Linked DNA regions of Homo sapiens: region 2 is linked to region 1. Evidence: promoter capture Hi-C in human tissues and cell types (Jung and others, 2019). All regions are on one chromosome and are shown on one strand. Each heading gives the region's core, a stretch centred on a gene start or on the middle of the fragment in contact. The rest is flanking DNA. Distances are from core to core; before and after follow the strand shown.

Region 1 (7,060 bases), core at 1,624-4,123:
CCACATGCAGCCTCTTTTATGTCTGGTATCATTTCCTTTCATTGTTCATTAGCTCCTTTGGAAACAGTACGCTACCACTGTGATCTGTTTCACAGCAGGCTTCCTAGCTTTCTTTTATTGCCTATAGGGACTTACTGAGGGCCCTTGCACCCACTCTCCACTGGAGAGAGGAAAACCTTCCCCATTTCAGGAGCTGAATTCAAAATTCATGCTGTGCTTTTCCAGCACACACCTGTTGGCTCTTTTGAGGTTCCCCTGTATTCGGCTCTGTTAGATGTTTCTTTGCTTTCTCCTACACAGACACTGAAACCCTGGGGGACTGTGGCTCTTGTAAATTTATCCCCACCTTCTTGGACTTTGAGGTTCACTTGTTTTTTTTCTTGAGACACTATCTCACTTTAGGTTGCTGAGGCTGGATCCCAGGGGTGCGATCACAGCTCACTGCAGCCTCAAACTCCCAGGCTCAAGCCATCCTCCCACCTCAGCCTTCCACGTAGCTGAGGCTACAGGTGTGAGCCACCATGCCCAGCTTACCTGGTTTTGTTATGTCTCCAGCATGCATTTTCGGTTTTGTTACCTAGTTGCTCGGTGTCCTGTGGGTTGTGGGAATGTACAGGGCCCATATGTAATGAACTCTGCGTTCATGTCTGCTGTCACCTTCTGGAGTTTCCCAGTTTGGATTTTTGAGTGAACTGTCTTAAGCAGCATTTCCTTTTAACGTCGTGAAACTAACGATAGCCATGTCCCCTAGCAAGATGCACCTTTGACACACTTTTATTCCCTTTCCTAAATGTGGCTGAATTAATCTAAGCCTTTATTTCTAGATTATTTCATTTTTCCTTACATTGCATCTCTTTTCTCTCAGAAATTTGTCTTGGAAATTCCCACTCTGCTCTTCCCCGGCAGTATCAGCAGTCGCTTAGATCTGTGAGTGTTCTGTGGGAGCTCATTTCTCACCAGCACTCCCTGTGTGCTGTCTTCCCTCCACCTTTTCCCTCCGGGTTCGCTTGGCTGGAGATTGTCCTCAGATCACTCTTGTCTCCTCCTCCCCAGTGCGTGATTTCTAAAGCCTTGCCTGTGACACTGGTCAGAGAACAGGCTCAGCGTGGTGGCATGTCACCATGAAACAGATGGACTTGGCTCAGGGTCCCCAAATGTGTCACTTCCCAGGAACTCTCCTTTCCTGCCGGGAGACTGAGCTCCGAGGACACCTTGGGCCATTCTGTAACTTCCTGGTTACCTTTAGTTATGGAAAGCCGTTGACCTCATAATTGTAAAAGGCTAATTGAATGTTTGAATCAGAGTGCGTTGGAGCTCAGCGGTGCTTCACTCCTCCCTCCTCCGACCTTGCCCTGCCTGGGGTCCTTCCGAGGCCCCAGAGGAGAGCGGGAAGCTGGAAGCCATGGGTCTTGTGCAAAGCCCTGCTTGGCTGGTCGTCAGGACTCAGGGCCTGCCTGCCCCTCTGCGCCTCTAGGGCGGGCATTGAATGCTGAATCCTCCCGGGCTTTGCCCTCTTCTCCTGCGAGCAGAGACTGAAGATATTTGAGGCTGAGAGGAGGACAGAAGGGAATGGCAGGTTTTTTTGTGAATGTACCAGGCCTGCTGGCAGGCGTTTCCCAGCTTAGCTGACAGATCAGAACGCAGAATCAGTCACTGCACAGGAAAGGGGTTGGACAGAATTGCACCAAGCATGCAGCTGATTTACAGACATGAGAGGCTTTATTGTAAGGAAATTCATTCATTACTTTGTTATTGTTTTTAAATAGATGGAGACAACAGGAAGGAAGGAGACCTTCCTGGTCACAGGTGGCCACTGGAGAACAGGCAGCGAGCGGCCCTGGAGGATCCAGGGTCCCAATGGTGGTTGAGAAGCTGGTTCTTAGTGATCACTGAGCAACATTGGCCTGGCCTTGTGGGGTCAGACCTTGCATCTCAGTCAGCCGAGGGAGAAGAAGAAGATGGTCCACACCCAAGTGCAGGGAACACCATGGCAGTTGGCTGGGTGCCCGCGTCCAGGCAAGGCCACCTCCTGCATCAAGGAAACATGCATTTCCGGAGTGAGGAGGCTGAAGGCAGGGCCCAGTGGAGAGCTGAGCCATGGAAGGAGGTGCGTGCATGGATGATGAGCTGGAGAAGGGGCAGGTGCCTCAGGGAGGATGCGTGGGATGAATTAATTCAGGGAAATCATAACAAATGCTTTCACCAAACAGGTGAAACCTGAAGGTCTGGGTTCAGAGCCTCAGATCTTACACTGGCAGCACACGGGGACACAGCAGCTGGACTGACAGCAGCAGGGCTTGCAGCAGCTAGACTGGCAGCACACGGGGACACAGCAGCTGGACTGGCAGCAGCAGGGATTGCAGCAGCTGGACTGGCAGCAGGATCCACAGCCTGAGGAGCAGCAGCAGGGCTTACAGCAATTGCACTGGGAGCAGCCACAAGAACCACAGCCCCCCTTGGAGCCCCCACAGGAACCACAGCCACCTTTGGAGCCCCCACAGGAGCCACAGCCCCCCTTGGAGCCCCCACAAGAACCACAGCCCCCCTTGGAGCCCCCACAGGAGCCACAGCCCCCCTTGGAGCCCCCACAGGAACCACAGCCCCCTTTGGAGCCCCCACAAGAGCCACAGTCCCCCTTGGAGCCCCCACAGGAGCCACAGCTGGAGCAGGAACAGGCTGGCACACAGCAGCACACGGGCTTGCAGCAGCAGACGGGCACACAGCAGCTGGAGCCACAGCCCCCACAGCCAGAGCCATAGCCCCCACAGCCGGAGCCACAGCCCCCACAGCCGGAGCCACAACCCCCACAGCCGGAGCCACAGCCTCCGGAGCAGCCACAGCAGCCCATGATTCTGGTAGATTGAGGGTGGATCAGGTAGAGGAGCAGGTGAGAGGGAGGTGCAGGTGTGGAGCTCCCTGAGCCCGGGCTCTTTATATACCTGTCCAGATGTCAGGCAGGACACAGGGTCCCTTTCTTGTGACTGTTTACATTATTTTTCCAGAGCTCTGTTTTTTTCCTTTTTGCTAGTGACTTCCTCCTGGCTCAGTTGAGCATCTACTTTCTTTGTATGCTAAATTTGTCTTTTTCCCCGTTTGTTTTGGCCCCTATAATTAAAACCTCAACTCCAGGCTGTCTGGTACTTCTTGCAAAGCTCCAGGGTGCTGGTCACCTGCTCTCTGCTGACCACATGTGACCAATGGGCAACAGCCTCTGCCCACATGCTCTCATCTTTCCTGTGTTAACTCCCCCAGTAATATTAATTTTACATTTTCAGATTTCAAAAGTTATCCATGGTCTTTATATTTTACTCATACCAGTCTCAGCTTTCTGGGTGTGTTAGACCATTCTTTGCATTGCTCTAAAGAAATACTTGAGGCTGGGTAATTTATAAAGGAAAGAGGTTAGAATGGCTCATGGTTCTGCAGGCTGCACAAGCATGGCACCCACCTCTGCTCAGCTTCTGGGGAGGCCCTCAGGGAGGTTTTCCTCATGGTGGAAGGCGAAGCAGGAGTAGGCACGCCACATGGTGAGAATGGGAGCAAGGGGTGAGGAGGGGCCACACACTTGCGAACAACCAGATCTGAGTGAACACACTCATCGCCAAGGAGATGGCGCTAAGCCAGTTATGAGGGATCCGCCCCCATGACCTAAACACCTCCTTGCAGGCCCCTCCTTCAACACTGGGGATTACATTTCGACAAGAGATTTGGAGGGGACAGCCCAACTATGTCATTATCCCCCTGACCCCTCAAATCTCATGTCCTTACATCACAAAATAGGATCATCTCTTCTCAACAGTCCTCTCAATGTCTTGACTCATTCCAACATCAAGTCTGAAGTCCCAAGTCCAAGTTCCTTCTACCTATGAACCTGTGAAAATCAAAATACATTATTTACTTACAAGATGCAATGAGGGTAGAAGCATTGGGTAAACATTCCCATTCCAAAAGGGAGAAGTCAGCCCAAAGGAAGGGGCTACGGACCCCATGCATGTCTGAAATCCAGCAGGGCAGCCATTAAATCTTAAAGCTCCAAAATAATGTCCTTGGACTCCCAGTCCCACATCCAGGGTACACTGGAGTGAGGGGTGGACTCCTAAGGCCTTGGGGAACTCCACCCTCGTGACTTTGCAGGGTTCACCCCCTGCAGCTGCTCTCATGGGTTGGAGTTGGGTGCCTGCAGCTTCTCCATGCTCAAGATGCAAGCTGTCAGTTGCTCTACCATTCTGGGGGCTGGAGGATGGTGTCCTCCTTCCCACTGCTCAGTTAAGCAGTGCCCCTGTGGGGATCATTTACACAAGTAAAAGATCCTTCCCCACCCCTCACCCCTGTGGTGATATCTGTGCCCTTGTTCTTCACAGGGCACCCCAGTGGGGTGTGTCCCATGCACCCGCTTCCAGCCACCCTCCTCTTTCTAGCTCACTTTCTCCAGTGCTTTCATTCCACCAGAACTCTTGGTGCATTGATACAACCACGGCTTCACTGATCCCCAACCTCTCTGATACCTCTTCTTGTTTTGTTAACAGCTTTATTGACATATCGTTCATATACCACACAATTCTCCCATTTAAGGTATACAATTCAATGCTTTTAGTATATTCACAGAGCCGTGTACCTATCACCATAATCAGTTGTAGAAAATTTCATAACCTCATGCCCTTTAGTACCCCCCACTCACTACCCCACAGGACGGTTCTCCAGGCGGCTTCAGACCAATGCAATTCTCCCCGTGTCTCACTTGTGGTTCTCAGGCGTGACTGCAGAGGGAGCTGAACCGACATTTCTGAAAGAAGACGTACAAATGACCAACAAGAGCTTGAAGGAATGCTCAGCATCATTCATCATCAGGGACACGCAAGTCAAAACCACAATGAGGTGTCCTCTCATCCCACAGAATGGCCATTATCAAAAAGGCAAAAATAAATCCTGCAGAGGAAGTGAAGAAAGGGAACTCGTATGCTGTTAGTGGGAAGTTGTACAACCACTAAGGAAAACTGTATGGAGATTCCTCAAAAAGCTAAAAATAGAGCTAACCCAGCAATCCCACTATGGGGTGTGTATCCAAAGGAAAAGAAATCAGTGTGTTGAAGAGATATCTGCACCCCATGTTTATCACAGCACTGCTCACGATAGCCATGATATGAAAGCACCTAAGTGCTTGTCAACAGATGAATGGAAAACATGGAAAAGTAATGAAAAGGAAAAGATGGTGTATACACACAATGGAATTCTATTTAACCCTAGAGCAGAACAAAATTCTGCCCTATGTGACAATACAGGTGAGCTTGGAGGACATTATGCTAAATGAAATAAGCCAGGCACAGAAAGATGAACTGCATGATCTCACTCACAGGTGCAAGCTAAAGAAGTTGATATCTCACTGGTCCCCATAAACATGTACAATGATCATGCTTCAATTAAAATATTAATAAAGAAAGAAAAAGAATAACTGTAGAATATGCTGGGAATGCAACATCCTGAGTTAGGGAGGGACTGGCCAGAAGAGTCGGGCTTTGTCCCAGTTCCTAGAAACAGGATATTCTTTCGTGCTTTAGTGCAGTGAATCCTGTAGCCCTGGGACATAAGACCGAGGGCAGGCGGCTTTCTGGGATCCCTCAGCTGTGGTGTGAGTGGGGCACACATGGATAAGACTCAGCTCACCTGGGAAGCTTTGCTGAGGCTAGAGGGCTCCCAATGAATCCGAGGCTCCTGTTCTCCCTTGCTGCCTGTCTGTAACTGGTATACCCACTTCCTGTGACATATGTGAGTGTCTCACCTGAGTCTGATAAATGGGTAACATTAGTAGTAGCCAGAGGCTACTACTAATTTACTTTTTGTCTCTCTCTATTTTTCTATTCTTGAAATTTCATACCTGTGAAATTATATGATATGTGGTCTTTTATAATTTCCTTCTTTCACTTAGTGTAATGTTTTGTGGTTCATCCATGTTGCAGCCTGAAACAGAACTTCATTACTATGATAAATTATTTACACTAATCTTCCTTTGTATGAATACACCATTCATTCCTCAGTTGGCAGACATTAGACTGTTTCCACCTTTTGGCTGTTGTGAGTAATGCTGCTGTGAACATGGGTGTGCCAGTTTTTGCATGGAATGTGTTTTCATTTCCCTTGGGAACATCCTTATGAGCAGAATTGCTGGGCCCTATGGTAACTCTCTGCTTAAGTTTTTGAGGAACTGCAGACTGTTTTCCACAGTGGCTGAGCAATTTACATTCCCACAGCAGTGCATGGAGGTTCCAGTGTTTCTGCATCCTTGTCAACAGTTGTTATTTTATTTTATTTTTATTTATTTATTTTTTAGAGACAGGGTTTTACTGTGTTGACAAAGCTGAAGTGCAGTGTCATGATCATAGCTCACTGCAGCCTCAACCTCCTGGACCCAAGCAATCCTTGTCTCAAACTCCCCAGTAGCTGGGACTACAGTTGTGCCTCATCACACCCAGCTAAATTTTTAATTTTTTGTAGAGACAAGGTCTTGCCATGATACCCATACTAGACTCAAACTCGTGGCCCCAAGGGATCCTCCCTTCCAGCCTCCTGAGTCACTGGGATTACAGGTACAAGCACACCCTGCCCCAATACTTGTTAATGTCTGACCTTTTACATTATATTCATCCTAGTGTTTGTGAAATGGTATCTCATTGTGATTTCAATTTGCATCTCCCTGTTGAATCATGATGCTCAGAGTCTTTTTATATGCTTGTTGTCATTTGGGTATCTTCTTCAGAAAATGTCTAATTAAGATTCTTTGCCCACTTTTTAATTGGGTTATTTGTCTTTTTATTACTGAGTTCCACATCCAGAAGAATAAAACTGGGCCGCTAACCAGATCACCATATACAAACATTAATTCAAGATGGATTAAAGACCGAAATGTAAGACCTCAAACTATAAAAATCCTAGAAGAAGACCTAGGAAATCACCTTCTTGATATCAGCCTTGTTAAAAAAGAATTACGGCTAAATCCTCACAAGCAATTGCTACAAAAACAAAAATTGACAAGCGGGACGTAATTAAACGGAAGAGCTTCTGCACA
Region 2 (7,656 bases), core at 1,958-4,457, 58 kb after region 1:
CAGCCCGAACACCTTCCCCTCTCCCAAGGCAGCAGTGAAGGGATGGTTCATGGATACGACCTAGGGGAAGGAACAGGGACCCTGACAGTGTGTGCTTCCGGATTTCTGTCTCCGGAACTTGACTGCTCCTCACAACACATAAGGCAAAACTGTCATAAATGTAAGGAAAGAATTTTTCTACTGGAGGCTAGGGACTTCAGGTTGCCATGTTTTGAAGCCTCCTGAAAACTCTAAGGTAGACATCCACTTCTGGAAAAACAGTGAACCCGGTATGTTTCTGGCTATGATTGAAAATTCTTGGTAAAAACAGACATCTGTTTAAGTGCATGGCTGTGTTTCCTGTAGCATTAGAGAAATTCCACGAGATTAGGAAGCATGAAGCCAGGGTGAATACTCTGAGGGATCTGGTAGTTCTAGGAACTTCGGGGCCTTGGATTTAAGAACTTCATGGTGAAGACTAAATCAATTGAATCTCAGCATAAAGCTGAGACATCGAACGGCTTCCCACTCCATGAAAGAGTTGCCTCGAGAGGTTCCGTATGTTGGTAACAGCAGAGGGCATTAAAATGAGTCTCTCTCAGTCTGGGAGCTGGATGGGAAAAAAAATCATGCCTGAAATTTCGCACCCACGTGCCGTTGTCACCTAGGTGAGGAGTTTACATTTTAATTCTCACAATCCCCAGGACACCCCTGTGCCTAGAGCCCTCGGGGTAATCCTTCCACTCTGGCTTTCTCCCCTCTATCTCTTTCTTGGGAAAATGTTTGCCCCATATTGAGTCAACACTGGAAGATCCACATTGGTTCATCTCTGATTTCCAACTTTTGAATTTGTCCTTACAATAAATTGAAGTTTCAGTGACTTGGTGCTTCAGGGACCCGTCCCCACTCTTCCCAAGGAGAACAAACCATGGTTACCATGAAGTACAATAGGTCACTAAAACGTATTCCTCCAGTCTAACTGAAACTTCATGCCCTTCTGTCAACATCTCCTGCTGGCCCCATCCCTGCTCCTCCCCACCTACCCATAGCCCCTGGTAACCACCTTTATACTTTTTCTATGAGACCAGCTTTTTAAGATTCCAGATATAAGTGAGGTCATACAATATTTGTCTTCCTGTGCCTGTCTTCTTTCACTTAGCATAATGCCCCACTAGTTATATCCACATTGTCATGAATGACAAAAATTCCTTCCTTTTAAAGGCTGTATAGTATTCCATTGTGTATATACACATTTTCTCTACCCATTCATCCATTGATAGACAGTTAGTTTGCTTCCATATCTTCGCTATTGTGAATAATGCTGAAATAAATGTGGGAGTGAATATATCTCTTCAGCAAATCAATGTCAGTTCCTTTGGATATATACCCAGAAGTGGAATTGCCAGATAATATGGTAATTCTATTTTTAGTTTTTGAGGAACCCCCATACTATTTTTTTAACAGCTGTACTAATTTACATTCCCATTAACAGTGTACAAGTGTTCCCTTTTTATCTACATCTTCATCAACACTTGTTATCTTTTGTCTTTTTGATAACAGTGATTCCAACAGGTGTGAGGTTATATCTCATTGTGGCTTTAATTTGCATTTTCCTGATTCTTAGAGATGTTGAGCATTTTTCATATATCTGTTGGCTATTCATATCTCTTCATTTGAGAACTGTTCAGATCCTTTGCTCATTTTTAATTGAATTGTTTTCTTGCTGTTAAGTTGGTTGAATTCCTTATATATTTTTGATATTCACACCTAATCAGATGTAAGGTTGAGAAATGATTGATGTTTGTGTGTCGATCTAAATCCTCAGACCTTGCTGAACTCACTGTTATTAGTTCTTGGGTTTTTGTTGTAGATTCCTTGAGATTTTATACATAGACTACTATGGTGTGTGCAAATATTTCTTCATTTCTCATCTGTATATCTTCTAGTTCTCTTGCCTTATTGCCCTGGCTAGAACTTCATTATGTTGAAGAGTGGTGAGAGTGGACACTTGTAATTGCTCCAAATGTTAGGGGAAAACATTCAGTTATCACCATTAAGCCTAAAATTGGCTATAGGTTTTTTGTAGATGATGAAGTGACACTCTAATCCTAGTTTGCTGAGTTTTTTAAAAATTATGAACAGGTGGTAAAAATTTCCAAATGCTTTCTTTGTGTCCCAATTGATGCAATTGTGTGAGTTTTCTTCTACAGCCTGTTAGCACAGTGGATCACATTGATTTACTTCCAAATGTGGAGCTAGTCTTACATGCTTGGAATAAACTCCACTTGGTCATGGTTTGTAATTCTTTAATATATTGCTGGATTCTATTTGCTTTCTTTTGTTGAAGATTTTGTGTCTATGTTCATGAGGGGCATTGGTTATTTCTTTTTTTGTATTGTCGTTGTCTGGTTTTGCTATCAGGGTAATACTGGCCCCTTAAAATGAATTTGGAAGGGTTCTCTTCTCCACTATTTTCCAGAGATTATGTAGAATTGGTGTTCAGTCTTTAAAAATTTGGTAATTCTCTGCATCTGAAAATTTAAAATTCCAACTTTCTTTTGGCATTTTAAAACTACACATTCAATTCCCCTAATAATTATAGAGCTATCCAAATTATCTATTTTGTCCTGGCTGAATGTTGGTAGTTTGTGCTTTTTGAGGAGTTGGTCTGCTTCACATAAGCTGTTGAATTTCTATGTGTAGAGTTGCTTGCACCGTTTGCTCATTATCCGGTTCATGTCTGTGGGGTCTGTAGTGATATCCCCAAACTTGGTATCCATTCCTGAAGCTTATAGTTTGTATCCTTGTATCCTCTCTTTTTTTTCTTTGTTGGTCTAGCAAGAGGTTTGTTAATTTTACTGATTTTTTTTAAAGAACTAGATTTTTGTCTCATTTATTTTCTCTATTTTTTGTCTCTAATTTCACTGATTTCTGTTCTTATCTGGATTTTTTTCTTCTTCTGCTTATGTTGGGTTTGATATTTTGAATATATTTTTATAGCTTTGTATGTATTATGATTTATATTACATTTTAAGTATATTTTTATAGAGTTCCTAGTGATCTTTTATTGAATACCAGATAAAGAGTATAAAAAACTGAGAAAGGTTTTGAGTGATGTTACTTTCTTGCAGAGACCATTTGTTTTCCTTCTGCGAAACAGTTAGACAAGCAGCAGATCACATTGATCCAGTGAGGCAGTAAGATAAGAGGCCAGGCTTTATTCTTTGTGAAGGAGTCTCTATTTCTGGCCTGTACTTCTCCCAGTATATAGTCTTGAGGGGTTTCAATAGAAAGCCTTAAGTTTTTACCAAGCCCTTTCTTATTAATCCTAAAATTAAATATTTATTTTCCAGAGCTACAAAACCTCCATAATCTCTGTTTTGCTTTAAAGGCTCTTCATGGATGCTTTTTGCTTAGCTCCTTGTCCTCTTTCCCCAGGCAGTTTCATAATCTTCAAGGGAAGAGGAGCTGCTGCACACTGGACTCACTTCTCTGAGCTCTTCTTTTCCCTGGAAGCTTTGCCCTGCAAGCTCTGGCTGCCTTTGTCACCCTAAAGTCTGATTTTCGGAAGGAACTGCCAATGCCTCAGCTGCTTTCTGCTTGTGCTCTTGTTCTCTCTGTCGCTAACGAATGGGCAGAGGCCCCACGGGAGGAGAGTGGAGCGCTGGCACCTGATGCATTCATTTCCCTTCTCACCAGGATCCAGGCACCTCCTGTCCTGGACACCTGGGTTTCTCTCTAGTGCTTTCAACTGCTGTTTTGTGTTAATTTTTTCTGGCTTTCCTACTTGTTCTCAGTGATTCTGTAGCTCAAATATGAGCTGTTCCATCAGAACCAGAAGAGGAGTCGCAATACGTATTTGAAAAATACACGAATAAATTATCTGCAAATTAAAAATAATCAGCTCTCCAGGAGTAGCTTCTATGGTGGGTGATGGCGACTATCTGAGGCTGGTGTCACAGGGGTAAAAGAGTTTACCAAGAAACTTGTAGGTTTTAAAAAAAGGCAGATTTATTAAAGAAAGGAAGGAAGTACATTGCAAGAAGGCAATGGGCAGGCCAGGAGAAGAGGAGCTGACTGCAAGGAGACAAAGGCTTGCAGGGGATTTTACAGGATGGTTCCTGGGCCATGTGCTGAAGAGGGCTGCATACAATACCTACAATGCCAAGGTTGCAGTGAGCTAACTTGCATTTTTCTATCAGCTGAGGGTCTGGTGATACCTGGGCATGGGAAGATTGTGAGCTATATGCACAGGAGGGCTGTGTGTGCTGGACTGTGAAGAAATGCAGACTTGTAGCTTATCTGCTTTCTCTTTTTGCTTTCCCTTGGTCCTGCCACCCTGGCTCCTTTTCCCTGATTAGGACGCCACAGCTTCCATGTGTTTTGATTTGTTAGATCTGACATGGGCCAATGAATTGTTTTTTCTTTAACTATATACAATCCTATTTTTCCCCTCATATAAGCCAATCCTAATGGAATAGAATCATCCTTTTCAAAAGCTTTTTACCAGAGGTCTCCACACCACTCCCAAGTACAGCCTCCCATGCCTCACTCAGCTACAACCTGGCAAAAATCTCCAGCCCTGCAGAGACTGAGTGGTGCATTGAGTCCCTGATTGCTGTTTTCCAGAAGGATCCTGGAGAGGATGGTTACAACTGCTCTCTCCAAGACGGAGTTCCTAAGCTTCATGAACACAGAAGAGGCTGCCGTCACAAAGAAGCAGAAGGACCGCAGTGTCCTTGACTGCATGACGAAAAGACTGGATGTCAACAGTAACAGGCAGCTAGATTTCCAAGAATTTCTTAATTCAAAATTGGCAGCCTGGCTGTGCATTGCCATGACTCCCTCCTCAAGGCTATCCCACCCTACAAGCAGACCTGAGGGCCCCTTCGGCCTGGCCTCCAAAGCCACCCCCTTTCCTTCCAGCTTCCTGTCACCATCTCCTCCTCACAGCCCACACGTCCCCTGAGCCCAGCACACCTACCTCCTCTGGCAGGCCCCGCCTGCGGGTAGAAATAAAACAGTTTTCACTCGCATCGGTGTGAAGAGACCACCAAACAGGCTTTGTGTGAGCAACAAGGCTGTTTATTTCACCTGGGTGCAGGCGGGCTGAGTCTGAAAAGAGTCAGCGAAAGGAGATAGGGGTGGGGCCGTTTTATAAGATTTGGGTAGGTAAAGGAAAATTACAGTCAAAGGGGGGTTGTTCTCTGGCAGACAGGAGTGGAGGTCACAAGGTGCTCAGTAGGGGAGCTTTTGAGCCAGGATGAGCCAGGAGAAGGAATTTCACAAGATAGTGTCATCAGTTAAGGCAGGAACAGGCCATTTTCACTTCTTTTGTGGTGGAATGTCATCAGTTAAGGCAGGAACCGGCCATCTGGATGTGTACGTGCAGGTTACAGAGGACATGATGGCTTAGCTTGGGCTCAGAGGCCTGACAACGTCACATTTTTAAAACATGAAAAAAAAAAGCTTTTTATTAACTACTCTGCTTAATTCAACTCCTTACTTCATATGTAGAGTTGATATAGCTGAATGCCTGCTGGATAAGTCAATAAAGGAAACCCTGACACTGCCACTTTGCAATGATAAAATAACTCATCAAATTGAAGATTTAACTGCAAACATAAAAACTGAGTAAACACAGTCTCTTCACATACATTTGGACAAATCTACAGACATCGCTGAACTTCTGGTATTGCTCTAGCACCAGCCCCAGCTAATTATTGGAAAAGGGTTTCTTTATAAGTGAATGGTTGGCAACAAACCAAAGTGCTGTCATCTCATAAACCGGACACTGAAAAGATTTGCAAAACAAGTACAACAATGCCACTCTTCTCACTTAGATGTTTTGTTTTTAGAAAATTTATTTTTTTGTAAAAATATGCTATTTCATGTTAACATGCAATGGGCTTATTATTTTTAGTGACTTCCTAAAATAAATCTATTTTTAGATTTCTCAGTTTTAATTTCTCAGGTAGCAACTATCAACAGATAAAAGCCACATAAGCAAATGCTCTTAGGGGTTTTGAGACCAAAGTGTTTGAGAATCACTGTCCTAGAGTTTTAAAACATTGGAAAGGGGAGGGGAATGTGTACCCCTGTCATTAACAGTATCCAGCTGAGAGGGAGGCTCGGGCTGACTGACTCGGGGTTCTATTGGAACACAGCCAGGCCTGTCCATCATGTATTGTCTGAGGCTGCTTCCTGCTGTCATGGGAGAAACTTTTGGGCGGATGCTGCTGGGAGCCGGTCAGACTGGGCAGACTGGATGAGAACAGGAGGATGAGAATGAGCAAAGGCACCCACGAGGAGAACAGGAGGAAAACCCACGCGTTTGGGGGCGACTAGAAATGCGCAGTGAGCCTTGGGGTCCCCTGTGCTGCCCTCAGGCTGCGTTTGCCTTGAGTGAAATATTTTCTCCAAAAGGCAGAGGAGAGGACAAAGCCCCCTGTGCATCTCCATTCTCCACAGCATCCCCAGGATGGCAGGAGGAGGTCCCCGAGAACTGCACAAGCTGTGTTTGACCCAAGGGGACTTTTTCCTCTTGAGGAGGTTTGCTGGGTCATGTCAGTGATGAGGTTTAAGGACAGAGCCCAGGACCCTCAGCAGCCTGGATATGGCCAGACGGAGCTGGAAGCTTCTCACTGGCCGAGCTCTGGTCCCTTCCCCAAAACTGAAGGGTCATTACCCTATCCTAATCTCAGCTCGACTCATGCCAGGAGGACTCAGTAGTAGACTGTCCTACCACTGGGGGACACACTATTGTGTAACTGAGGGACACTAGGCTGTATCTGGGTGGACACTGCCCTGTTACTAGGGGACACTAGTGAGTAACTGGGGACACTGCCCTGTACTGGGGAACACTATCCTATTATCCTGTTACTGGGGGACTCCAGCTTATAACTTGGGGACACTATAATGGGGGACATTGCCCTGCAATTGGGGGACATTATCCTGTTACTGGGGGACACTATCTAGTAACTGGGGATACTACCTTATAATGGGGGGACAATACTGTATAACTGGGAGACACTATGAGGGGACATTGCCCTGTAATTGGGGGACACAGCCCAGTAACTGGGGAGACATTGCCCTATAACTGATGGACGTCACCCTATAACTGTGGGGACTTACCCTATAACTGGGGAGACATTCACCTATAACTGGGGGACATCACCCTATAACTGGGGGGACATTCACCTGTAACTGTGGGGACATCACCCTATAACTGTGGGGACATCACCCTATAACTGTGGGGACATCACCCTATAACTGGGGGACATTACCCTGTAACTGGGAGACATTACCTCATAACTGGGGACACTATAATGGGGGAACATTGCCTTATAACTGGGGACACTACCCTGTAACTTGGGGATACACTATGCTATGACTGGGGGGACACTGCCCTGTAACTGACGGGATGCTATCCTGTAACCAGAAGATACTAACCTATGACTGAGGGACAGTATCCTGTAACTGGGGACACTGCCCTGTAACTGGGGGACACCACCCTATAACTTGAAGGTTGGGGACCAGGGTCTGGTGCCCCTGAGCTCAGTTCCTGCAGGTGGGAAGTTTTGGAGCCTCCGAGGGTAATTCCACAGGATGGGGCTGCCTTCAGGGTCCCAGCCTCACCTGATCATCTTTCGGGTGACACACTCCCCACCCCGTTGC

Evidence for each region. The method cuts DNA at HindIII sites, captures the fragments that hold promoters and counts their contacts. A contact is called where the count stands out against the background at its distance.
Region 2: a fragment that was not itself captured here is called in contact with the fragment with the promoter of KRTAP5-10 in region 1 in 2 of the 25 tissues and cell types used here (H1 embryonic stem cells and mesendoderm cells).

The regions. Positions count from the first base shown.
Region 1 is chr11:71,561,376-71,568,435 of GRCh38, reverse strand. KRTAP5-10 (keratin associated protein 5-10) reads right to left here and starts at 2,873. Exons shown (of 1, transcript NM_001012710.2): 1 at 1,701-2,873. The coding sequence starts at 2,848. The coding sequence ends at 2,240. RefSeq lists an enhancer at 1,671-2,486. The HindIII fragment of the contact is 12,390 bases long and covers 1-6,544 here.
Region 2 is chr11:71,503,265-71,510,920 of GRCh38, reverse strand. It overlaps the pseudogene S100A11P3. Among named protein-coding and RNA genes, the nearest start is that of KRTAP5-7, 20 kb to the left of the region's middle. RefSeq lists an enhancer at 4,960-5,550. The HindIII fragment of the contact is 5,651 bases long and covers 382-6,032 here.